Linked DNA regions of Homo sapiens: all the other regions are linked to region 1. Evidence: promoter capture Hi-C in human tissues and cell types (Jung and others, 2019). All regions are on one chromosome and are shown on one strand. The core of a region is centred on a gene start or on the middle of the fragment in contact, and the rest is flanking DNA. Distances in the headings are between cores, read along the strand shown. Region 1 holds the start of GPD1 (glycerol-3-phosphate dehydrogenase 1). Region 2 holds the start of SLC11A2 (solute carrier family 11 member 2). Region 3 overlaps TUBA1C (tubulin alpha 1c). Region 4 overlaps ATF1 (activating transcription factor 1). Region 5 overlaps DIP2B (disco interacting protein 2 homolog B). Region 6 overlaps DIP2B (disco interacting protein 2 homolog B). Region 7 overlaps DIP2B (disco interacting protein 2 homolog B).

Region 1 (3,193 bases), core at 186-2,685:
CCTATGGGAAATTACTGGCCATGGAAGGAGAATATGGTTGGTTTTTCCTGGGCAGTCCCCGGAACTTAGAAAGCCATTTCTCCCCAGTCTTGACCTCCTGCCTGCTTACTCCTACCCATGGGTTGCACACAGACTCCCCTGTAGCCCAGTGCTTGTTACCAGTTGCTGGCCAGCAACAGCCCAGGGGGATGGCAACACCCACCTAGCCGTCTGCCAAGCCAGGAGGTCAGCACATGAGCACACAGTGGTGTCTGCCCTCTAGGCCAAGGTGCACAGTGTTAGGAGCCTCTTGCTCCACTCTCCAGATCAGCCTGGAAACCAGAGCTTCCCTCGTCTTAGACAAACAGATGGCCGTGGGCGATGCAGAGCCCTGAACTGCTGAGGGTGCTCCTTCCATTCTCGCCCTTCCCCAAAAAACATACACCAAACTTACCCCCAATCACAGCATCTGAGACCACAAAGCCCCACGGACACAGCTGCCCCGGGTACTGCCTGCCTTCCCCTTTTCTGGCCTCTGCAAACTAGCCATTCACCTGATGAAGCCCCTGGGGCAGTACCTTGGAAACCCCTGAGAGGAGGAGTTGAAGGAGGCTCAAAGCCTTTCAAGGACAGTGTGCACTCTGCCTGCCTCCTATTCTCTCCTGTCCTCTTAAGCCCAGAGTCTACAACAAAATTGTGTACCGCAATTCTCAGAGCTCTCTAACTTTAACCTTTCCCACCTTCCCTAGAACACATTTTTGGGTGGGGATCATCTGAGAGGCCCATGGATGAGTCCCCAAGATGACCTCTGTGGGTGACCAAGACAATCTTGTCTTTTGAGGCACCTGGAGTCTCTCATCCTTTTTTGAGCTGGGCTGTCCTCAAAGCAGGCCCTTACCTCTTATGTGGCCTCATCTTTAGAGGTGGGAAGTGGGCCCACATCCCCCACCCCAGCCCTGCAGTGGAGCTAGCGTGGGCCTGCTGGAGGACAGAACTGTGGAACAGGGTCCTGTGAGGATATGTGGCAGGGTTGGCGGGGGGATAGGGGGTCATGGAGGAGCCTACCTCTGAAAAGCATTCCCCTAGCTGCTACTGAAGCTAAATACAATTTATTTCATGCTGGGGGACAGAAAGGAGCAAGGGAGAGCAGTCACCTGCTCCTTATCTGGGCTATTTTCTTAGCAGACCTCAAAATGAGACCATGGTGGGAAGCTGGGCTGGGGCCAAGGGAAGAAGCTTGCCAGCACTGTCAGCCGATGAGCCCAGGAGAAAAAGCTGGGCCTAGTCTCTGCCCCATTCCTGTTCCACACCTGTCTGTACCCCTGTCTCTCCTTTCCCTGGCTCTGCCAGACTCTCTATCTCCCTGGGCGCCAGCCTCCCCACCCACCCCTGGAGGGCGGGGCTTGGCTGCACCCACGTGTGGTGGAGTTAAATGCTCCTAGCCGGCAGAGGAGCTAGGGAGTGTGGCACTGAGCCGGCTCAGGCAGAGACGCGGCACCATGGCTAGCAAGAAAGTCTGCATTGTAGGCTCCGGGAACTGGTAAGCAGCTCTGTCAAGTGATATGGGGGAAGGGTAGGCCCCCCAAGACAGAGGTGGGTAGGAGGCAGAATGGGTGGGAAAGGCCCTCAGGTTCCTGTTCAGCCCCTGCTGCTATCTTCTATCATAGCAGCACAGGACAGACGGTGCCCGGCCCTCTCCTGACCCCCGCCCTCCTGGGCAGCTGCACCTGTTCACCATGGGAAGGCGTCTCCAGAGCTCTCTATGTGAAGAGCCGCTTGAGTTTGGGGGTGGGAAGATGAGAAGTGGGGCTCCCTTCTCTAGTAGCAAAGGGTGAGGAGACTGAGTCTCCTTTCTACTGCCAGGTCACTGGGGACTATTTGTCATGGGAGTGGAGGTGATAAGGAAGGTAGGTAGGAGTGAACAGCCTGGGGGGCTGCTGTGAGATCCTGAGGTGGGGCGCTGCCCCAACTCCTGCCACTGTTCCCTCCTCCTGTACTTTCCTGTGCTCCCCCTCCCACCAGGGGCTCAGCCATCGCCAAGATCGTGGGTGGCAATGCAGCCCAGCTGGCACAGTTTGACCCACGGGTGACCATGTGGGTATTTGAGGAAGACATTGGAGGCAAAAAGCTGACTGAGATCATCAACACGCAGCATGAGAATGTCAAATACCTGCCAGGGCACAAGTTGCCCCCAAATGTGGTGAGCCCCAACACCCTGCGAAGAACAGGGAGAGGAAGGGAGGGCCAGGAGTTGGAGCCGACCTTACTCAACAGGTGCCTCCTGCTGAGAGGGCCGCTTCAGGTGCAGCAGGACTTGGGAAGGTCTCAGGAGGGCTGCTCTGGGCCCTTTCCTGAGGACTGAGGAGAACCTATGCTTTCCCCTCACAGGCTCCCAGGCGGGTGGGTGGGGAAGGGATGGGAGAACAAGTTGGTCTCCATGGCAGCCAAAGACTGGGCTCCCAGACTTGGGGTCCAGTAGTGCCTGCCTCCGGCACTAATCCTGTTACTCATTCACTGAGTGAGTAGCCGACTTGGAGGCTGCTCCTTGGACTTACGGTCTTTGGTCAAATCCACGTGGCTCTCCCCACCTGGAAAGGGGAAGCAGGGAAGAGAGCAGAAAGGCTGGGGCTCCCCCTTCCCAGCTGGGGTTCCTGAGGAGCTGGGTGATGAAATCTTATTTGAGCTCTTTCTTTTGCCAAGCCCAGGCTGCTTTTGGCCTCCCGCACTGTCCCACAGCCAAGGGATAGGAGAGTGCTGGGATGAGGTTTCCAGGAGTCCTCAAGAGCCCAGGACAGCTGGAGGGAGACAGAGTGGTAGCTGGGGGGAGGGAGTAGAGTGTCTTATTCCTCCAAGTTCAGTCCTTCTAGATTCAGTCCCAAACAAGCCTTCCTGCTCCCCTACCAGCCTCACTCTTTGGCTCCCAGATCTCCTGAATAGGGTTCCACAGGGGCTAGGGGAGGTCTGCCAGGCCCGCGAGCACTTGGTCACCCCCACAGGTGGCTGTCCCAGATGTGGTCCAGGCTGCAGAGGATGCTGACATCCTGATCTTTGTGGTGCCCCATCAGTTCATCGGCAAGATCTGTGACCAGCTCAAGGGCCATCTGAAGGCAAACGCCACTGGCATATCTCTTATTAAGGTGCCAGGGACACCTTCATGTGGATGGGGGAGGGTGCGGCTCACTGTTGTGGGGTTCAGGGTGGGTGAAGCAAGGAG
Region 2 (3,193 bases), core at 194-2,693, 920 kb after region 1:
AAATAAACTGAGTAGGCCAAGCAAGACTGTCAATGAAATACTGTCCAATGAAAAAATAAACAGCCGAAGGTTTCAGGTTTCATTTACCCAACACAGGTATCACAATAAATGACCTAGTATAATGATAGTTTCCAACCGTATTTAATAAAACAAACACGCAGCAGAAATCCTCTAGTCACATATAACTACACTATACCCTCAGATCAAAGTTAATGATGTCAATGGAAAGTATAGGCCGGCGGGTTCACTGGTGATAAGTCATGAGACTCTGAGCAAAGAATAAGTAATAAGGTTAGAATTCTTTAGAAGTGTTAAGGGGAAAGAAGGTAACAACAACAAAAACTCCTCCACATCAAGAGTTCTAAGTACTTTGTTGTTTATTAACTAATTTCATACCAACAACCCTGTAAGACTGATATTATCAATCCCCATTTTAAGTACGTGGAACAAAAGAAGAAAGAGGCAAACAACATGCTCAAAGATTTACAAAGCCAAGAAATCATGCGAACTGGTGGGGCTTCGGGTTCCAGAAGTCAGTGTAAACATAGCTTCTCCATTTTTCACCAACAGTCACTAAAATTGAGGCCAGCAAGTTTTTAGAAGCCTATCTCCCCTTGCAAACTCTCCTTCCATATAATTTTTGCTTTTGCAAGAGATGTCACATTTAAGCGGTAGCTTTAAAAGTGGGGACACATGAAACGCACAGCTGGGAGAGCCATCCAGCCCACTTACATATGTGCAATATCCCCCTGTAGAAAAACCCTGCTCATTGGAGCCTGGAATCCAGAGGGTCCCTGAGAGCTACACAAACAGCCTTAAAACCAATCTACCCACAATTACTGAGCCGCGTATGCAGGCTATTCACACAGAAGGCGCTCCCTGAAGTCGGTTAGGTTATAATGAGTCTTTTGTTGAAGCGGGGCGGCGGGAGGCCCCGGAGAGCAGCCCGGCCCCCTGCGGCGCCGACGAAGAGGCCACGAAAGACCTTGCCCTGTGCCCGTCGGCCTCTTTCGAGGCGTCGAAGCAGGTCAGCGCACCCCGACACAGGCCGGGCGCGCCATCCGGTGCAGCTGGGAGCTGGGCCATGTGTCCTAGGCCGCGGCGGGGAAGGGGCGAGACCCCCGCGACCTCCGGCGTTCCCTCCCTGCCCCCATCTTTGGGTCTTTCTCTGAATGGCGCGACTCCATCAGTCCTGGACTCTGGGCCTGAGGCCCTCCCTGGCCACACCTCCCCTCACAGCCCCGCACGGCGAGCCGGTGTCGCATCCTAGCCCCGGAGCCTGACCCCCGACACAGGCCCTCGAGCCGCCCCGCGCCCCTCCCTGCCAGCGAGCGGAATGCCGTGACCCCTGACCTTGCCTTCCCCTCACCTTACCAGCTCCGCAACCACCTGACACGCCGCCCCCGCGCCCAGGGCTCCATATTCCGGGAGCCAGCGCCACGCTGGCTAACGCCCTCCCCTCCCCGCGATTGGTCGACAGGACGGCAGCCGCACATCCCTATTGGCTGGAGTCCCTGCAGCGGCCGGGATGCGTGGCCCGCAGACCAGGGACCTAGGCTCCGCCCACGCGGAGTCTGGATGCGGCGGCCCCTGGGGCACGCGGCGGCCCCTGGGGCACCCGGCGGGAGCTGCATGCTGCCTAGTTGCTGCTTGCGTTGGCCAGACCCACACAGCCCCTGGACTGGGGAGCTCCAGTCCGCTAGCAGTCTGGGGACAGATAAGATTCCTGCCCTAGTTCGCCGTGGCGCCACGTTAGGTACTGACAATCAAGCTACGAGGTATAGCTCTATCCTGTAAAGGGTAGCCAGGCCAGGCGCGGAGGCTCACACTTGTAATGCCCAGCACTTTGGGAGACCGAGGCGGGAGGATCACTTGAGTCCAGGAGTTCGATACCAGCCTGGGCAACATAGTGAGACCCGGTCTCTACAAAAAATTTTAAAATTAGCCAAGCAAAGGCCGGGCGCGGTGGCTCACGCCTGTACTCCCAGCACTTTGGAGGGCCCAGGCGGGCGAATCACCTGAGATCGGGAGTTTGAGACCAGCCTGACCAACATGGAGAAACCCCGTCTTTACTAAAAATACAAAATTAGCCGGGCGTGGTGGCGCATGCCTGTAATCCCAGCTACTCGGGAGGCTGAGGCAAGAGAATCGCTTGAACCCGGGAGGCGGAGGTGCAGTGAGCCGAGATCGCGCCATTGCACTCCAGCCTTGGAAACAAGAGCGAAAACTCCGTCTAAAAAAAAAAAAAAATTAGCCAGGCATCACGGCGCCCGCCTGTGGTCCCAGCTACTCGGGGGCTGAGGTGGGAGAATCACTTGGGCCTGGGAGGTGGAGGCTGCGGTGAGACAAGATCGTGCCACTGCACTCCAGCCTGGGTGGCAGAGCAAAACCCTGTCTCAAAAAAAAAGGATAGCCACCTGGAAGGAACATTTCCTCGCGCCCCCAGAGCCACATCATAGTATCTGCTGCCCCACCAAGAGCACCCCACACCTGGGAGGAACCGAGAAACATCAGCTAGTGCAGCCAGTTTGACCGCCTTAGGTGTCCTCCCAAGCCTCCGTAGTGAATTGTTTTCCTCCTCGCCCAGCTGACTCGATTCTCCCCAGACTTCATCCTACCTACCCAAAAGCAATCCCACTCTATCGCCAGTTTCAGCCTCACACCGTATCTTTTGCTCTGAAGATGAGACTGCCAAACTGGTGAAGAGGGAATAAATGGCCTAACAAATTACCGTAATTTTCTGCAATGTCGTTTACAGCCACCAAAAACATTAGATCCTCCCGCCACCCTCACTCCCCGACCCCTCGCACTGCTTACAGCATTAAAGGTAATTGAGCTTCTTTATTCACGTAAAAACAGCTAGGAGAAAATTTCATTAGTAAGAGAGACCAAGAAATGAGGAAAGGAGCGTGAACTGCAAAGAGAAAAATCCAAATAAAGTGCGAAGTAAAAACAAACTCGGGGACCAAAAAAAAGTGGGGGGGGGGGGCTTGGCTTCCTGGAGCAGGTTGGTTTTCATACAGAATTTCTCCTGGAGAAAAAAGAAAATGCACAAATTAGTTCTGAGATTCTCGCTACAGTACATCTGTGGAGTTTCAGAAAGGTTTGATGAAGTTCCTCCAGATCGGAACCTTTCCTTTGGCAACTTCTATTATAACTAGAAAATAAAATTGCTAGAGCTGTACTTGTCACC
Region 3 (3,193 bases), core at 473-2,972, 830 kb before region 1:
GAAATCCCCAACAACCTGAGGTCTCATGGAATTGTGGTTGTGTCACTTTACCCAAAATAAATGGGCTTCTTGGTACCTAGTGTCATATATTGGCTTACTGGGCCAATACTGTGCTTACTGTGCCAAGCACTATGCTGAGTACTTACTTAATTCTCAACCTAAGGTGATTACTATTCTCACTTAATCAGTGGAAGAACTGAGAAATGAATGTGGTCATACAGTAAGGAACTGGTACAGCCGGATCCTGACACAGCCTGACTCCAGTACCAGGGTGTTAGAACTTTGGCTATTCTGTTGTTCCACCTCAGAAAGCAGCTGCCAAATCTTTACAAGACATCCACTGTACCAGGCTGGTGGTCCTGGGCCTGCCCCTTAGGACCTCTCCAACTAAGAAACTGCCCTGTTCTGTGGCCACAGCAAGAGAACCAGAGGCTGCCTTCCCAGTTACCAAAACTTGAGCCCTGTATGCAAGCCCAGGCCTTGTGATTCCTCTGCCTAAGGCAATAGTTCATCTTAAAATAGTCTTAGCAAAGGTTTTTCTGCTCAAGGACTTGATTGTGAAAAGTTGTTCTGAATCACTTAGCACTTAAAAGCTTTTTTTTTTTTTTGGAGACAGGGTCTGCTCTGTCATCCAGGCTGGAGTGCAGTGGCCTGATCATCAGTCTTGAACCCCTGGGCTCAAATGCAAATGGTCCTCCCACCTTGGACCCCCAAAGTGTTGATTACAGGCGTGAGCCACTGCGCCTGGCCCAGAAGAGTTTTAAAATTGCAATTGGAGTAGCCATAGATTTATAGAAGTCCTCTGTAGGTTTCACCAAATGTGAACACTAAATGAAACTTTCGCAACACTAAAATGAAACTTTTTTATTTTGCAGGCTGACCAGTGCACCGGTCTTCAGGGCTTCTTGGTTTTCCACAGCTTTGGTGGGGGAACTGGTTCTGGGTTCACCTCGCTGCTCATGGAACGTCTCTCAGTTGATTATGGCAAGAAGTCCAAGCTGGAGTTCTCCATTTACCCGGCGCCCCAGGTTTCCACAGCTGTAGTTGAGCCCTACAACTCCATCCTCACCACCCACACCACCCTGGAGCACTCTGATTGTGCCTTCATGGTAGACAATGAGGCCATCTATGACATCTGTCGTAGAAACCTCGATATCGAGCGCCCAACCTACACTAACCTTAACCGCCTTATTAGCCAGATTGTGTCCTCCATCACTGCTTCCCTGAGATTTGATGGAGCCCTGAATGTTGACCTGACAGAATTCCAGACCAACCTGGTGCCCTACCCCCGCATCCACTTCCCTCTGGCCACATATGCCCCTGTCATCTCTGCTGAGAAAGCCTACCACGAACAGCTTACTGTAGCAGAGATCACCAATGCTTGCTTTGAGCCAGCCAACCAGATGGTGAAATGTGACCCTCGCCATGGTAAATACATGGCTTGCTGCCTGTTATACCGTGGTGACGTGGTTCCCAAAGATGTCAATGCTGCCATTGCCACCATCAAAACCAAGCGTACCATCCAGTTTGTGGATTGGTGCCCCACTGGCTTCAAGGTTGGCATTAATTACCAGCCTCCCACTGTGGTGCCTGGCGGAGACCTGGCCAAGGTACAGAGAGCTGTGTGCATGCTGAGCAATACCACAGCTGTTGCCGAGGCCTGGGCTCGCCTGGACCACAAGTTTGACCTGATGTATGCCAAGCGTGCCTTTGTTCACTGGTACGTGGGTGAGGGGATGGAGGAAGGCGAGTTTTCAGAGGCCCGTGAGGACATGGCTGCCCTTGAGAAGGATTATGAGGAGGTTGGAGCAGATAGTGCTGACGGAGAGGATGAGGGTGAAGAGTATTAACCTGTGTGCTGTACTTTTACACTCCTTTGTCTTGGAACTGTCTTATTTTTGTTCTGTAAATGTCTATTGCCGTAAATTGTTAATAAAATTGAAGTTTCCATTTTAAATGTCGAGCTGACTTAAATACTTGATCCAGTTAAAGTTGGATGTATGAGGCTGGTAGATGAAACCACCTGAGTCGAGGGTCTTGCTCTGTCACCCAGGCTGGAGTGCAGTGGCATGATAATACATAGCTCATTGCAGCCTCGAGCTCCTGGACTCATGTGATTCTCCTGCTTCAGCCTCCTAAGTAGCTGGGGACTGCAGGTGCACACCACCATGCCCAGCTATTTTTATTTCTTGTAGAGATGGGGCCTTGCTATGCTGCCCAGGGTGGTCTTCAACTGGCTTCAAGTGATCCTCCTGCCTCAACCTCTCAAAGTTTTGATTATAGGCATGAGCCACTGCCCAGCTTCTTGGTTTATCTGTTTAATTTGGGCCTGAATTAAGTGGTTATAGAATCATTTTGTAAGTGAGGAAACGGGTTCAGATTGAGCCAGTGCTTCTCTAACTAAAATGGATGTGAATCACCTGTAGATATTAAAATGCAGGTTTGGGGTCAACCTGGTGGCTCATGCACTTCGGGAGGCCAAGTTGGGTGGATCACGAGCCCAGGAATTCGAGACCAGCCTGGGCAACATGGTGAAAACCCATCTCTACCAAAACAAAAATTTGCATGCTGTGATGGCACCTGCCTATAGGTGGGAGGACCACCTGAGCCCAAGGAGGTTGAGGTAGTGAGCCATGATTGCACCACTGCATTCCAGCCTGGGTGACGGAGACCCCTGACTCTCAAATTTAAAAACAAAATGCAGGTTCTAATTCTATAGGCTTGAGGTGAGGCTTCAGACACGTCTTAAATTTTTTTTCTTTGAGATGGTCTCTTTCCCAGGCTGCAGTGCAATGGCACCATCATAGCTCACCCCCACCTTGACCTGGGCTAAGCCATCCTCCCACCTCAGCCTCCCAAGTAGCCAGGACTACAGGTGTGTTCCACCATGCCTGGCTGATTCTTGTAATTTTTTTTTTTTTTTTTTTTTTTTTTTTTGGTAGAGATGGGGTTTTGCCATGTTGCTTAGGCTGGCCTTGAACTCCTGGGCTCAGGCAATCCTGCCTCAGCCTCCCAAAGTGCTGGGATTACAGGAGTGAGCCACTACACCTGGCCCCTAGATACGTTTTTTAATAACCTCCCAAATGATGCTGTTGGTCTGATGTGACCACATGTACAGTAGCAAAGGGTTAGATAACAGTAACTGCTGGAGCCAAAATTCAAGTGCCCAGCCACACTGCCAGAACTATTGCTG
Region 4 (3,193 bases), core at 198-2,697, 670 kb after region 1:
ATAAAAACTTCTAAAAGGACTTTATTAAAGAGTGCTATGGTTAAAATAAGTTTAATTAAAAGTGGATATTCAAGCTCTAACAGCCTGGACTCCTTGGGAAAAACAAGAGGCACCAGAGACCCCTTTCGTGGCCCTGTTCTTCCAAGGGCTCCACCCTGAAGCCGGTAATCCAATTAAGAAACTTAAAAACTGGCAAATGAAAAATCTTACAACCACTGTTATCATCATCATCTGTCTTTCTGTGTAGCTATATAGGTGTCGTGTGTAATATTTATATAAAAGAGCTCTGATTAATCAGCTTAAACAAAAATAAACATTTAAATCAAATATTTTGAAAGCAAAATAACTAATGCCTTTTAGTTCATGTAACTTTAGTAATCTTTAGGAAATAAACACATCTTTAAAATTGATAAAAATGTTAATCTTAATTATGCAGGTCAGATATTAAGTTTGTTAAATGATTTGAGGTCATAAACTGTTTCTTTGACTTTTAAAAATTGTTCAATTTACCCTACCTTAAAGCCATTAGATTCTAGATAAGGCCTGGGGACATGTGGAGTTAGCCACGCCCCTAAGCTGTGCTGGAGAGTCAGCTCTTATCTGCACTTCTGCCTGGTGTGTCCTAGGCTAGGCTCCACACCTAGTACATAATTAAAATTGCTTACTAACCAGGGTTTTCACCAAAAGTAAAAGTCGCTAAAAGTTAAAATTGGAACATGTAACTGAGACTATTGAAGAGACAGTTTTACATGTAAGGTGTGTAGTAAGGAAAATAGAATGTACTTTTGGTAAAAGATTATAAGAAGGCATGGAAATGTGGGGTTTTTTGGCTAAAGAGTTAAATAATTATTCTAAGTTGGCCGGGCACAGTGGCTCAAACCTGTAATCCCAGCACTTAGGGAGGTCGAGGCAGATGGATCACCTGAGGTTAGGAGTTTGAGACCAGTCTGGCCAACATGGTGAAACCCCATCTCTATCAAAAAATACAAAAGTTAGCCGGGCATGGTGGCGCACACCTGTAGTCACAGCTACTCGAGGCTGAGGCAGGAGAAGCGCTTGAACCTGGGAGGGGGAGGTTGCAGTGATCTGAGATTGCACCACTGCACTCTATCCAGCCTGGGTGACAGAGCGAGACTCCATCTCAAAAAAAAAAAAAATTCATACAGGAAGCATTATCAAATGTCAAATGGTGTTTTGCTTTCTTTGGATTATATTTACATAACTGTATTATTGGTATATGTTCCAAAGTTATGGGAAACTCCTATAATTCTAATATGATTTAGTGTATGTTATTAATAATTATAATTGTTATGCAAAATATTGTGTGCCACAGAAGTAACCAAATTTCCTTATCATTTCTGGCTTTAATAGTGGCTCTCCTAAAACTTTTTATCATCCACAGACAATTGTTGTCTTGTTTTAATCCTGTTTAGAAGATGATTTATAATCAGCTATAGAACTCTAGCAGGTGTTCTTAAATGCAGGTTTCTAATAACTTTGGAAATTGTAACATTAGAATAGAGGAAACAACTTTCAGAACTCATGAAGAGCTAGAATGTTCATGAATATCAAATGAAACATGAGTTAATTGAATCAACTGAACCAATAGAAAACTGAAGTAATCTTTGATTAAAATGTTGCTGATCCTTTGTTTTGTTTTTCAGAGTCAAGGAAACTTTTCATTTGAGCTATTTACAGTTCATAGCAATTGAGTAAAGTATACTGCTGTGAACGAAATTTGGAACATATTTGTTTCTCTATATCAGATTTCTCCAGAATTTGGAAACTAGTTGTGAGTATTCTTAACTTATGGCAATGTAATTATTTGCATAAGTGCAATAAGAATCTGTTTTCTTTTGTAACAGAATACAATTGGAGAAAGTGGTTATTTTACCAAGGCTTTGACTGAAATGGTGTGCTTTTCTTTAAGGAATCAAACTTGACTTGTAGAGCCAATAAAAGCCCTTTGGGGAACTGGCCTCATACCTTGCCTACACAGTGCCTGTACAGGGTTTCTGACCTATGGTAAGTAAAGAATGTCACTTTCTCACCTGTCCAGGAGCCCCAAGTTATCTTGGGACCTCAAAAGGAGAGAAATTTACCCAAGTTATAGGTATTTAAGGGTACAAACCCATGTCAGGGCTTGGCTTTTAAAAAAGTCTTATCTGAGATTCCTTATGAAACAGAGTTCCATCAAAGCCAATTAAAAAGCCTATGTGAAAAATTATTATTCTTGCTGCACTTTATACAAACAATCAGGCCAAGTATAATAAAGCAAGTCAGTCTTACCATAATTTGTCTTTAGTAAAAATGGGAAACTGGAGAGAGAAATACTATGTTTCAAAAACTATGGTACACTTGTTATTAAATTCTGGTCTCATTAATTGTTTTTAAGTTTGTTTCTGCAATTTAGGCTAACCCTGCGTATTCTTGTAAACCAACCAGTAATCTCTAATTGTTGCTCAGAAGAAATAAGAGGGATGGGTAATTTAAAAATCTGGATCAGTATTCTGATTCTGGGCACATTACAATCAGCTAACAACCCGATATCAGCTTAGTTCCAGTGGTTGCCTGGTTCATGAAAAGTCTTCTAATTTAGTTTATTTGGAATAACTTTACTTATTTTGCTTTACTCTTTTTTTTTTCTTTCTTTCTTTTTGAGACAGAGTCTTGTTCTGTCGCCCAGGCTGGACTGCAGTGACACCATCTTGGCTCACTGCAGCCTCCGCCTCCTGGGTTCAAGTGATTCTCCTGCCTCAGCCTCCCAAGTAGCTAGAATTACAGGCACACATCACAACGCCCAGCTGACTTTTATATTTTTAGTAGAGATAGGGTTTCACCATGTTGGCCAGGCTGGCCTCGAACTCCTGACCTCAGGTAATCCACCTGCCTCGGCCTCCCAAAGTGCTGGATTACAGGTGTGAGCCACTGTACCCAGCCTATTTTGCTTTACTCTTGTGGAATATATTGCTGTTATACTTTTTGTGTAGGAATACAGGACAAGCTTACTGAACGTTTTCTTACTAATTTTCCAGATACCACCTTTTGTTGAAACTTGAGTTATGAATGAACCTTACCATACTGATGCTTTCTGACTGAGCTCCTTTTTACCCTGAATGCAAGAGACCCTCATAGGCAGGCAGGAATATCATTGCCCTATTTAGCCTGAAGAAGTTATAGAAGATGGATCTTC
Region 5 (3,193 bases), core at 359-2,858, 590 kb after region 1:
TAAAAGCATTAAGTGGGTTGGAGGGCAGTTTGGCAGTGTCTGTTAGCATTTTAAAAGCATATACCACAGCCGGGCACTGTGACTCAGGCCTGTAATCCCAGCACTTTGAGAGGCCAAGGCAGGCGAATTACTTGAGGCCAGGAGTTCAAGACAAGCTTGGCCAACATGGTGAAATCCCAACTCTACTAACAATACAAAAATTAGCTGGACATTGTGGCGCACACCTGTAATCCCTGCTACTCAGGAGGCTGTGCAGGAGAATTGTTTGAACCCAGGAGGCAGAGGTTGCAGTGAGCCGAGATCGCACCACTGTACTCTAGCCTGGGCAACAGAGCAGGACTCTGTCTCAGATAAATAAATACATACATACATACATACATACATACATACATACATACATACATACATACATACACCAGTCCCAGCTACCCTGGAGGCTGAGGCAAGAGAATCACTTGAGTTCAGGAATTGGAGGCCAGCCTGGGCAACATAGTGAAACCCCTGTCTCTTTTTTTTTTTTTTTTTTAAAGCATATGCCATATGACAGCAGTACTACATGTCCATATAGGGAAATACTTGCACAAGTCCAGGGAAGGAAGTAGGAATGTGCTCCTTGAAACATTTTTTGTAGTAGCAAAAAATTGTCATTAATAGGGAAATGCCTAAATAATTGTGATATAGCCAAACAATGGAATACTGTGCCGCAGTTCAAAAAGAATTATGTAGATCTCTTATACTGATATGCATAGATTTAGCTTTAGAACAATTTAAATGAAAAAAACAAGTTACAGATATATGTATAATATGATGTCTTTTATGTTAAAAATACTTATATATTTCTATGGGAACAAATATCTATGAAAATGCATTGAAAAAAGATTGGAAGGATATCTGTCAAATTTGTAACTGATTATCTCTGGCGAGGAGAGGAGGGAACCAGGTTTGAGGGTAGGTATTAAAGGAACTTCAATCTTATATTTAATATTTAAGATTGTTTTCAAAGAGTGTGTATTTGAGTATTACTTGTATAATTAAAATTGCTAACAAAATACCAGCTCAATTTTAAAATACTAAGTATGTATTTTGTATTGATTACTTTTCTTCTTTCTTTGTTTTTCAGAATGTAATGAATAAGATGCACACAATCAGCGTACCCTACTCTGTTATGAAAACCTGTCCTCTCTCTTGGGTCCAAAGAGTACATGCTCACAAAGGTAGTCACCTGCAACATCTGAGCTTTAATTATGTGACTGTTTGAATTAAGATTTCAGGGATTTCAGAGATTTTCAAATTGCCCTTGTATGCCCCTGTCCCTTAACAAATTGTAGAGTTTAGTTACTACAGAATTAGGTACCTTGCCTGTTCATCTCACTGATGTCCTCTCTTAAGCATTGAGATGAATTTTTTCCAAATGCGAGCCTTGAATTAGATTTGACTGTCTTGGTATTCACAGTTTCCTTGGCTGGGACACTGTGACCTGCCTAGAGGGTCTCAGTGAACAAACAATTGTAGGTCCAGTCAGTTGTCTAAATGTGATAATTTCTGCCTCTGAGCTATTGGCACAATCTCTTTGAAACCGTTTTTATCTTCTCCAAGCAAATATCATGATTCCCCAAATAAGTAAAAATGTTTTTATTGTGGTGTATTACATATGTCCCAAATTTATTGTGTATGTTAACTTCATCCTTTTTGAATTTATAGCCAAGGTAGCTTTAGTAAAATGTCGGGACTTGCACTGGGCTATGATGGCACATCGGGACCAAAGAGACGTGAGCTTGAGTTCCCTCCGAATGTTAATTGTGACTGATGGAGCTAACCCCTGTGAGTATTTCTTCATTGTGGATCTGGGAATATCCTGTGTTTTGATAGATTAGGGTTTTTCGCCCTGTACTAAGATATAATTCACATACTGAAAAACTCACTCATTTAAGATGTGTAATTCAGTGGTTTTGGTATATTCACGAGTTGTGTAACCATCATTACAATCTAAGTTTAGAACATTTTCATCACCCAAAAAGAAACCACATGCCCATTATCAGTCACTCGCCATTTTTCCTCCTGCCCCAGCCCTAGATGACTGCTAATCTATTGCCTGTCTCCCTAGATTTGCCTATTCTGAACATTTCTTATAAATGCAGTCATGCAGTATGTGGTCTTTGTGATGGGCTTCTTTTTCTTAGCATGTTTTTAACGTTCATCCATGTTGTAGTATCTGTCAGTACTTCTGCATTCCTTGTTACTACCAGGAAATCGTCCATTGTATAGTTATACCACATTGTATTTACTCATTCATCTTTTGATGGATCTATAAGCTTTTAAGTCATTCTTTTTTGCTCATTCATGTATAACCTCTTTCTATCATGTAACTGGGTATTCCTGTGTTACCTGCTTTTCTCTACAAGCCCCCAAATCCTGATCCTTCACACAGTAGAATCAGGTAGAGCACTACACTGTTTGTCATAAATGGACTTTGTTAGTAGTCACATTGATCATCATAGTTTAAAACACAGACATGGGCTTGACCTTAATATCATATAGAAGGTGGAGCTAAGCCAATATTAAATTGCACTGGCTATGACAGTTCCTCAGGAAGAGTTGCTAAATTATAAACTGGCTGCATATTGCCTGCAGTGTTATCTCTGATACTGATTTGTCAGTTTAATAGGAGCAGCCTTATTCCAAGGTGTAATTTTAAATAGTGTCAGTGACCTTTTATGGGCTGGATGAGCATTAATTTGTCCTTGAAATATATCAAACCATCTCACAGGGACAGTAAAATATTTGCGTGGAATTAACAATATACAATATGAGTTCTCATGAGAAATAAGTATGTCAGCTTTCTATTCTTTACCATTTTCCTACAGTAATGAAAAGCATAATTTCAGCTTCAGGTTGATCTGTTCCAACTCCTTAGGGTCCGTGTCATCCTGTGATGCCTTCCTGAGTCTGTTCCAAAGTCATGGACTGAAGCCTGAGGCCATCTGTCCGTGCGCCACGTCTGCTGAAGCCATGACTGTAGCAATCCGCAGGTACTGTTCAGGATGTCAGATGCTCTTGATGTATGTTACAACTTGGATGAAATGTGCAGTATTTACCAGGTGATGACCAACGGATGTTAACTAATTTTCTAAGCAGTTTCAAGCATCTCATTTTTCCCACTCTTGCTCAAAGTGTATGCAGTAAACTGAAAAAT
Region 6 (3,193 bases), core at 183-2,682, 560 kb after region 1:
CCAGGTTGGGGAGTCTTTCCTAAATATTCTAATTTTAACCTAAACCACAAAGTAAACAAAGTTGGCAAATCAGACCTCCATAATAAATGTGCTCTAATTAATAGAGTCAGATCATTTTAATAGTGTATTTTATGATTGGTGTGGGGTAGGACCAATGGTCCACAATTACTTGGGAGACTAGTGAATATCCAGTGTTCTTTAAGCCAAAGTACAATAAAAACCCACTGTATCCGGTTGAATTTGTTTCAATACCTGATTGTAAAATTTAAGGTTTGCTGATAAGAGTAATGTTATGGTTACCATTTATTGCATGCCCTCAGTGTACCAGTCAAAGGGCTAAGTGCTTAACATATATTTTTTTCATTTTTAGTTCACTCAACAGTTTTCTACCCCATTTTACAGAAGAGAAAACAGGTTTAGAGAGGCTCAATAACTTGCCCAGACTTCTGTTTTTAGACATATCAGTTAGATAACCTGAAAATTATCTCCTAGAAAGATAGGGGAAAGAAAATGTTCTTTTAGAAATACTGGGTAAAATGTAACCAGCTTTTTAAAAAATGTATACAGGAGCAAGGGAGAATGATGAACACTGAAAAATCAGAATGGTGAGGTGGTGCTTACTTCCGCTGGGCTGTAGGGAGGAGAATCAGCAAGCCAGGGACCTTAATGTTAACTATAATGATAAAACCTTGGGCCCATCTAAGGTTGCAAGCTGGAATTAAGATCCCTGGAGGGACTTGCATCTTTAGCAGTTGGGTGAATTAGAAAAAAGGAACCTGTCAAAAAAGCTTGCCTGAGGCCGGGCGTGGTGGCTCACGCCTGTAATCCCAGAACTTTGGGAGGCTGAGGTGGGTGGATCACGAGGTCAGGAGATCAAGACCATCCTGGCTAACACGCTGAAACCTTGTCTCTACTAAATAATACAAAAAATTAGCCGGGCATGGTGGCGGGCGCCTGTAGTCCCAGCTACTCGGGACGCTGAGGCAGGAGACCCTGTCTCAAAAAAAGAATAAAAGGAATTAGCAAATTCCTGGGCTCAGGCCATCCTCTCAAGTAGCTGAGACTATAGGCACACACCACCACACTTAGCTAAGTTTTGCATTTTTTGTAGAGACAGGTTTTTGTCATGTTGCCCAGGCTGGTCTCAAACTCCTGAGCTCAAGCAGTTCATCCGCCTCAACCTCCCAAAGTGCTTGGGATTACAGGCGTGAGACAATGCGCCCGGCCAACATGCTAATTGTTTATATGTTTACTAATTGGTTATAGATGGATTGTAGGCTTCTGGTGACCAGTATTCAATGGTGCCTTGTTAAAATCACAGCAGATTATAAACTGAAAGGCAAACTATGTTTTCAGAATTGTTTTCTGTTGCGTATTCGTTATATATAAGAGCTTAGGGAAGATGTTTTATTTATAAGTGATAACAGTCATGAGTTTATTTTTAATCAGAGCAGAATCAGTAGGGAAATGATAAATTTCTATTATTTAATTTTGCCCAAATTTCTACAAATTCATAACAATTTCCTGGGTGACAAATTGCTTTTAAAATAATATTTAAGGGACCTTGTTTTGATTTTTAAAAAGATACAATCCCAGAGCAGTGCTACATTTTATGTAGACTTCACTACATAATCGTCTTTTAACTTTACCCGGATAGTTTCTTATCTGTGACCATAGGTTGAGTTATTCATAGTAAGCACCTCATTTCTCAGGTGGCATCATTTGGCACAGTATTATTTTCTTCTACCAACTGTTAGTCAGTTTCTGCTATCTTTCCCTTCATGTTTATAGGAAGCAATTAGCCATTTAAATTACTCTTAGGAAAAATTTCAGGTTATTCCAAATCAAAAAGAAATACACATTCCTTTTAACCATTCTCCTGGGGATTAGAAGAGGAATTAATGTTGATTGGCCAGGTGCTATGGGCTGGCACCAGTATGGGTGCTTTCTGTACAGTGTCTTTGTTCATGGTCTCCCAGCTATGGTTAGGATAAAGGCAAGTTTCCTTAGCTTGTCTTACAAGGCCCTTGGTGGCCCAATGCTACCTACTTGTCCAGTCTCATCTCCATGACTATCAGTCTTGCATCTGTGCTCTGGCTAGTCTCTGTTTCTTTAATATCTTTAAAAAGTTTTCTGTCCCCTCCAAGCTTTCTCGCGTGCAGCCCCCTCTACCTGACGCTGCACTCTCCCTACCTCTGGGCCTTTCATAACTAATCCCTACTTAGCCATCAGGCCTTGGGTTAGGTCTTACTTCCTTGGGTGCCTGCCTTGAACTCCTCTAACTCATCTCAGTCCCATAAGAATAGGGACTATGTCTTCTTGCCCAACTTTTTATTCCTACCAACTACTGTAGTGCTTAGTGTGTTTGTCAAATGGACGAATAAGTAAACAGTCTTCTCAGATGGGTAATTTTATCCCCAAGTCACATAGCTAGTAAGAGGTGGATCCTAGAGTTTGAATGGAAGACTGACACCAAAGCCATGTTTTTTTCCACTACGCTAAGCTGCCCCATAGTTGTAAGTCATTAAACACTGAAGACTGGCAGACAAACAGGGTAACTGAATTGAAACAATACACCTAATTGCATAATTGATCCAATATAGAAACATAATGAAACCCATTTTCCATAAACCTAATCATGAAAATACTGGTTTTACTGTCTTTTTAAAATTGGGTTATTCTGATTTTAAACTTAAACAAATTAAAATACATATAAATGATACAATAAAATGATACAATAAAAGCAGCCCACAAATCCAATGGAGATTGTGGAATCTTGAGATAACTTACCTTGAAAATACTTTATTCTTAAGGTCAAATTCACCTATCCTAGGGGCCCTATCCCAACTTCCTCTCTGTTTTTTTTAACATGTTTGCTAAGACAGGAATATTTGTGTCCCGGGGTACAGTTGAAATGTTAGAATATTTTCTGAAAATTACACAAAATGCTTTCCTTAAAGGGGTACAGATGTGATTACTTCTTTTTTTCTTTAAATTTTCTTTTAATCACCCCCCTTTTGCATGATAGATCTCATTCTTCTTTATGGACCTCATCACTTTATCTCTTTGGGATCTGGTCACTATTTATCTCTCCACCCTCATTTTTTTCATTTTTTTGCCTTACTCTTCAAAGTCTTTGCTCTATGTACAAAGAAGTACTTGAAATCCCTGACTGTGGTTGGTTCCCATCCTG
Region 7 (3,193 bases), core at 222-2,721, 520 kb after region 1:
TATATGCACTAATTTGTGCATCATACATACTTTTAAATTTAACTTTGTGGAAAGGAGAGCCACATGAGTAAATAAGACAAAGCATTGAACCAAGGGGAGGGGATGTGGGAATTCCAGTCCCAGGTTCCAGCACAGGTGTTAGGGTACAGAAAGTCCTTTTAATTATCCCATCCAGAGCCTGAACTTTGTCTTCTCTTACTTTTATGTGGTTCGTATAGCAGTATAAGTGAATACCTCAGAAACCAGTTGTACTCATTTGGTAAATTGAAACTCCAGAGAGAAATCGTTGTCAGCCTTGCTGCATTCCATTTTGGGATATCTTAAATACCAAGGAAGCTGGGGATGCCTAGGAACTTGGGGATCTCTGTCATGGTATACAACATATTGCTATGCAAGATTGGTTTTGGGACAAGCTCTACAGTATTCTACAGGAAGTCAGCTCCAAGCCTGTGGGAAATCATACATAGCAAAATCCTTGGCAAAGAACCATACATTCCCCCCCCCAACCCCCTGCCTCTATATGGGGTAGTTCTATAACTCTGTAATTAATTTTATTTTTACAGTGGAAAACCACAGAGTAAGAATAATGCATAACCTATTTCTGTTTCTTGCTATTTTAGGGGACATCACCCAGAAGGGCTATGAAAAGAAAAGGTCCAAACTCCTATCTCCTTACAGCCCGCAGACACAAGGTAGGCAATAAAAAATGGTTTCAACTTTTTCAGTATTTTTACACCAAAAGATGCTGTCTTACAAGACCTCTATCTTTTGTTTGTTCCTGTTTTTCCCTCCCTTCCTCACCAGGGGAGAGAAAAAAACGGAAGGAAAGAAAGGAGGAAATGAATCTTAATGAGCATCTGCTGTGTGCTAGGCACTTTTAAAAATACCTAAGGTCATCAGATAATTTACACAGAACTTGGGTGGTAGTGTGTGAAAGACTATGCATAACTGAGATGATTCCATGGCAGAAAATTCCAAGCCATGGAAAAACCACATCGTATTTATGATGGTGCACAAACCGTGATGAAGAAGAGCAAGAGGGAGGAAGGAAGGACAGATCCCCTATCGAATGGCAATACTTGAGGATTGGGGGGTAAAACCCTAAATGAACTTGTAGATTAATTCAAAGCCAGACTTACTGCTTCTATAGAGAGACTAGCACATTGTTTATATATCAGAAAGTCCTGAATTAATTTCATGCTTAATGCCAAAGGGGTTGCCATAACCTTTGCCTCTAAGCAAGGCTGTCTCTAAATAATCATCATATTTTTAAAGTTACTCAGATTGCAGGATTTCCTTTGACAGCCTATTTCTGCTTATATCACTTTTACTATAGGGTGTTTTGTCTTTATTTCTGATTTTCTACCCCCTTCAACCAAAGTGTGTTTCTGCAAGCCTGTTCTTTGTGGAACTAATGGCTTTTTTTTTTTTTTTTTACTGAATTATAAATACCATGAGGACTTTGTATCTCCCACAGTTCTCATAGTAAGCTTTGCACAGGGTTTATGGCCTGTAAATATTTGTTGAATGAACAGTGGAATAAATAAATAAATAATGGTGATATACCAATATATTTCTTTGATGTGCTTGTTTTATTTCCTGTATTGTTCTTGGAAATACCTTCATAGAGAAACTAGTAGGTCAATACACTGACAGCTAATTTAAGATATCTCAATGAATAGGTGTATGTAGAAATGAATTGAGAGAAAAGAGGTGGAAATTGGGCCAGCGACAGCTAGTGAAAAGCCAGCTTTTGCTGAGCAAGGCATGACCTAGGGGTTGAGGAGGTTACCTTGATTTGCTGCTTATTGTGGATCTGGCCCATGCCTCTGAAGGCCCAGAGATTTACTTGAGTCACTTGGTGTAAAAGCAATAGCTCAGCAAGAGGTATAACTGTAAAAAGGACCACAGTTTGTTATCCGTAGTCAGGCTACGCAGAAACCAAATCATGTTCAAAAATCAATTTATTAATTTACTATGAGAAATTTTTTTTTTTTAGACAGATTCTTGCTCTGTCACCCAGGCGGGAGCGCAGTGGTGCGATCATGGTTCACTACAGCCTCAATCTCCCAGGTTTAAATGATCCTCCTGCCTCAGCCTCCTGAGTAGCTGGAACTACAGGTGTGCGCCACCACACCCAGTTAATTATTTTTTGTAGAGTTGGGGTCTCACTTTATTGCCCAGGCTGGTCTTGAACTCCTGAGCTCAAGTAGTACTGCCATCTCAGCCTCCCAGAGTGTGGGGGTTATAGGTGTGAGCCACCACGCCTGGCCTACTATGAGAAATCTGTATGGTCAGCACATTCTTGCCCCATGGGCAAGCCTATAATGGGAACCAAATCATTTGCTTAGTGAGCATGCATTTGATGAATCAGTTGTTTAATTGCAGTAGGCCAAGAGAATGTGGCATATCCCTCCCCCAGTAGGGATGGCCTTGCAGGTGACCTCACAGGGGAAATAGAAGGCATACGATGACAACTCCTTCAACTTCCTGATGCCACACTTCCAACATCTGTCCCCTTCCATGATTACTTCCTTCCTTCTGGTTAAAAAGATTATCTGTTCCTCCTGGCCAAGGACAGTCCTTCTACCTATGCTTTAGATCCCAACCCCTCCTCCTTTTCCCCAAATCTTATACTATCCAATGGCACCAAGGATAGGGCAGTGAGAGCAGTCTACCTGGTTGCAGTCAGTAAGGCACACAGTATCTGTAGAGAACTTAAAAAGCAATGATGGGCCGAGCGTGGAGGCTCACGCTGTAATTCCAGTACTTTGGGAGGCCGAGGCGGGTGGATCACATGAAGTCAGGAGTTCAAGACCAGCCTGGCCAACATGGCGAAACCCCATCTCTACTAAAAATACAAGAATTAGCCGGGCGTGGTGCTGCACACCTGTAATGCCAGCTACTCGGGATGCTGAGACAGGAAAATTGCTTGAACCCAGGAGGCAAAGGTTGCAGTGAAGCAAGATCATGCCACTGTACTCCAGCCTAGGCCACAGAGCAAGACTCCGTCTCAAAAATAAATAAATAAATAAATAAAAATATAAAAAGCAATGATGAAAACGACAAAAAATTGGTCTGCTTTTTACTAAAAAGTATCACTGTGTGCAGCAATTCTAAATGCTGTAATAAAGACCTCTCCTGCTGAGGCAGACAGCTGCATTGCCCCCTTGGTATGCCGTTGCTGTCAGGT

What was found. The method cuts DNA at HindIII sites, captures the fragments that hold promoters and counts their contacts. A contact is called where the count stands out against the background at its distance.
Region 2: the fragment with the promoter of SLC11A2 here is called in contact with the fragment with the promoter of GPD1 in region 1 in 1 of the 25 tissues and cell types used here (liver).
Region 3: a contact is called between a fragment that was not itself captured here and the fragment with the promoter of GPD1 in region 1, in 1 of the 25 tissues and cell types used here (spleen).
Region 4: a fragment that was not itself captured here is called in contact with the fragment with the promoter of GPD1 in region 1 in 1 of the 25 tissues and cell types used here (dorsolateral prefrontal cortex).
Region 5: a contact is called between a fragment that was not itself captured here and the fragment with the promoter of GPD1 in region 1, in 1 of the 25 tissues and cell types used here (dorsolateral prefrontal cortex).
Region 6: a contact is called between a fragment that was not itself captured here and the fragment with the promoter of GPD1 in region 1, in 1 of the 25 tissues and cell types used here (dorsolateral prefrontal cortex).
Region 7: a contact is called between a fragment that was not itself captured here and the fragment with the promoter of GPD1 in region 1, in 2 of the 25 tissues and cell types used here (aorta and liver).

The regions. Positions count from the first base shown.
Region 1 is chr12:50,102,573-50,105,765 of GRCh38, forward strand. It overlaps GPD1 (glycerol-3-phosphate dehydrogenase 1), which reads left to right and starts at 1,436. Exons shown (of 8, transcript NM_005276.4): 1 at 1,436-1,519; 2 at 2,002-2,179; 3 at 2,976-3,116. The coding sequence starts at 1,479. RefSeq lists an enhancer at 446-495. The HindIII fragment of the contact is 8,009 bases long and covers 1-3,193 here.
Region 2 is chr12:51,024,941-51,028,133 of GRCh38, forward strand. SLC11A2 (solute carrier family 11 member 2) reads right to left here and starts at 1,444. Exons shown (of 16, transcript NM_000617.3): 1 at 1,370-1,444. RefSeq lists enhancers at 404-1,017, 1,018-1,629 and silencers at 1,035-1,094, 1,105-1,824. The HindIII fragment of the contact is 17,071 bases long and covers 1-3,193 here.
Region 3 is chr12:49,271,378-49,274,570 of GRCh38, forward strand. TUBA1C (tubulin alpha 1c) reads left to right here. Exons shown (of 4, transcript NM_032704.5): 4 at 876-3,193. The coding sequence ends at 1,850. Among named protein-coding and RNA genes, the nearest start is that of TUBA1C, 7.9 kb to the left of the region's middle. RefSeq lists a silencer at 2,609-2,903. The HindIII fragment of the contact is 6,713 bases long and covers 1-3,193 here.
Region 4 is chr12:50,768,365-50,771,557 of GRCh38, forward strand. All of the region lies in intron 1 of ATF1 (activating transcription factor 1), which reads left to right. Among named protein-coding and RNA genes, the nearest start is that of ATF1, 5.9 kb to the left of the region's middle. RefSeq lists enhancers at 543-1,043, 1,044-1,544. The HindIII fragment of the contact is 6,244 bases long and covers 1-3,193 here.
Region 5 is chr12:50,694,147-50,697,339 of GRCh38, forward strand. DIP2B (disco interacting protein 2 homolog B) reads left to right here. Exons shown (of 38, transcript NM_173602.3): 15 at 1,121-1,214; 16 at 1,702-1,821; 17 at 2,915-3,029. Among named protein-coding and RNA genes, the nearest start is that of ATF1, 68 kb to the right of the region's middle. The HindIII fragment of the contact is 3,836 bases long and covers 1-3,193 here.
Region 6 is chr12:50,665,943-50,669,135 of GRCh38, forward strand. All of the region lies in intron 4 of DIP2B (disco interacting protein 2 homolog B), which reads left to right. Among named protein-coding and RNA genes, the nearest start is that of ATF1, 97 kb to the right of the region's middle. The HindIII fragment of the contact is 3,395 bases long and covers 1-3,130 here.
Region 7 is chr12:50,625,356-50,628,548 of GRCh38, forward strand. DIP2B (disco interacting protein 2 homolog B) reads left to right here. Exons shown (of 38, transcript NM_173602.3): 2 at 621-692. Among named protein-coding and RNA genes, the nearest start is that of DIP2B, 120 kb to the left of the region's middle. The HindIII fragment of the contact is 7,348 bases long and covers 1-3,193 here.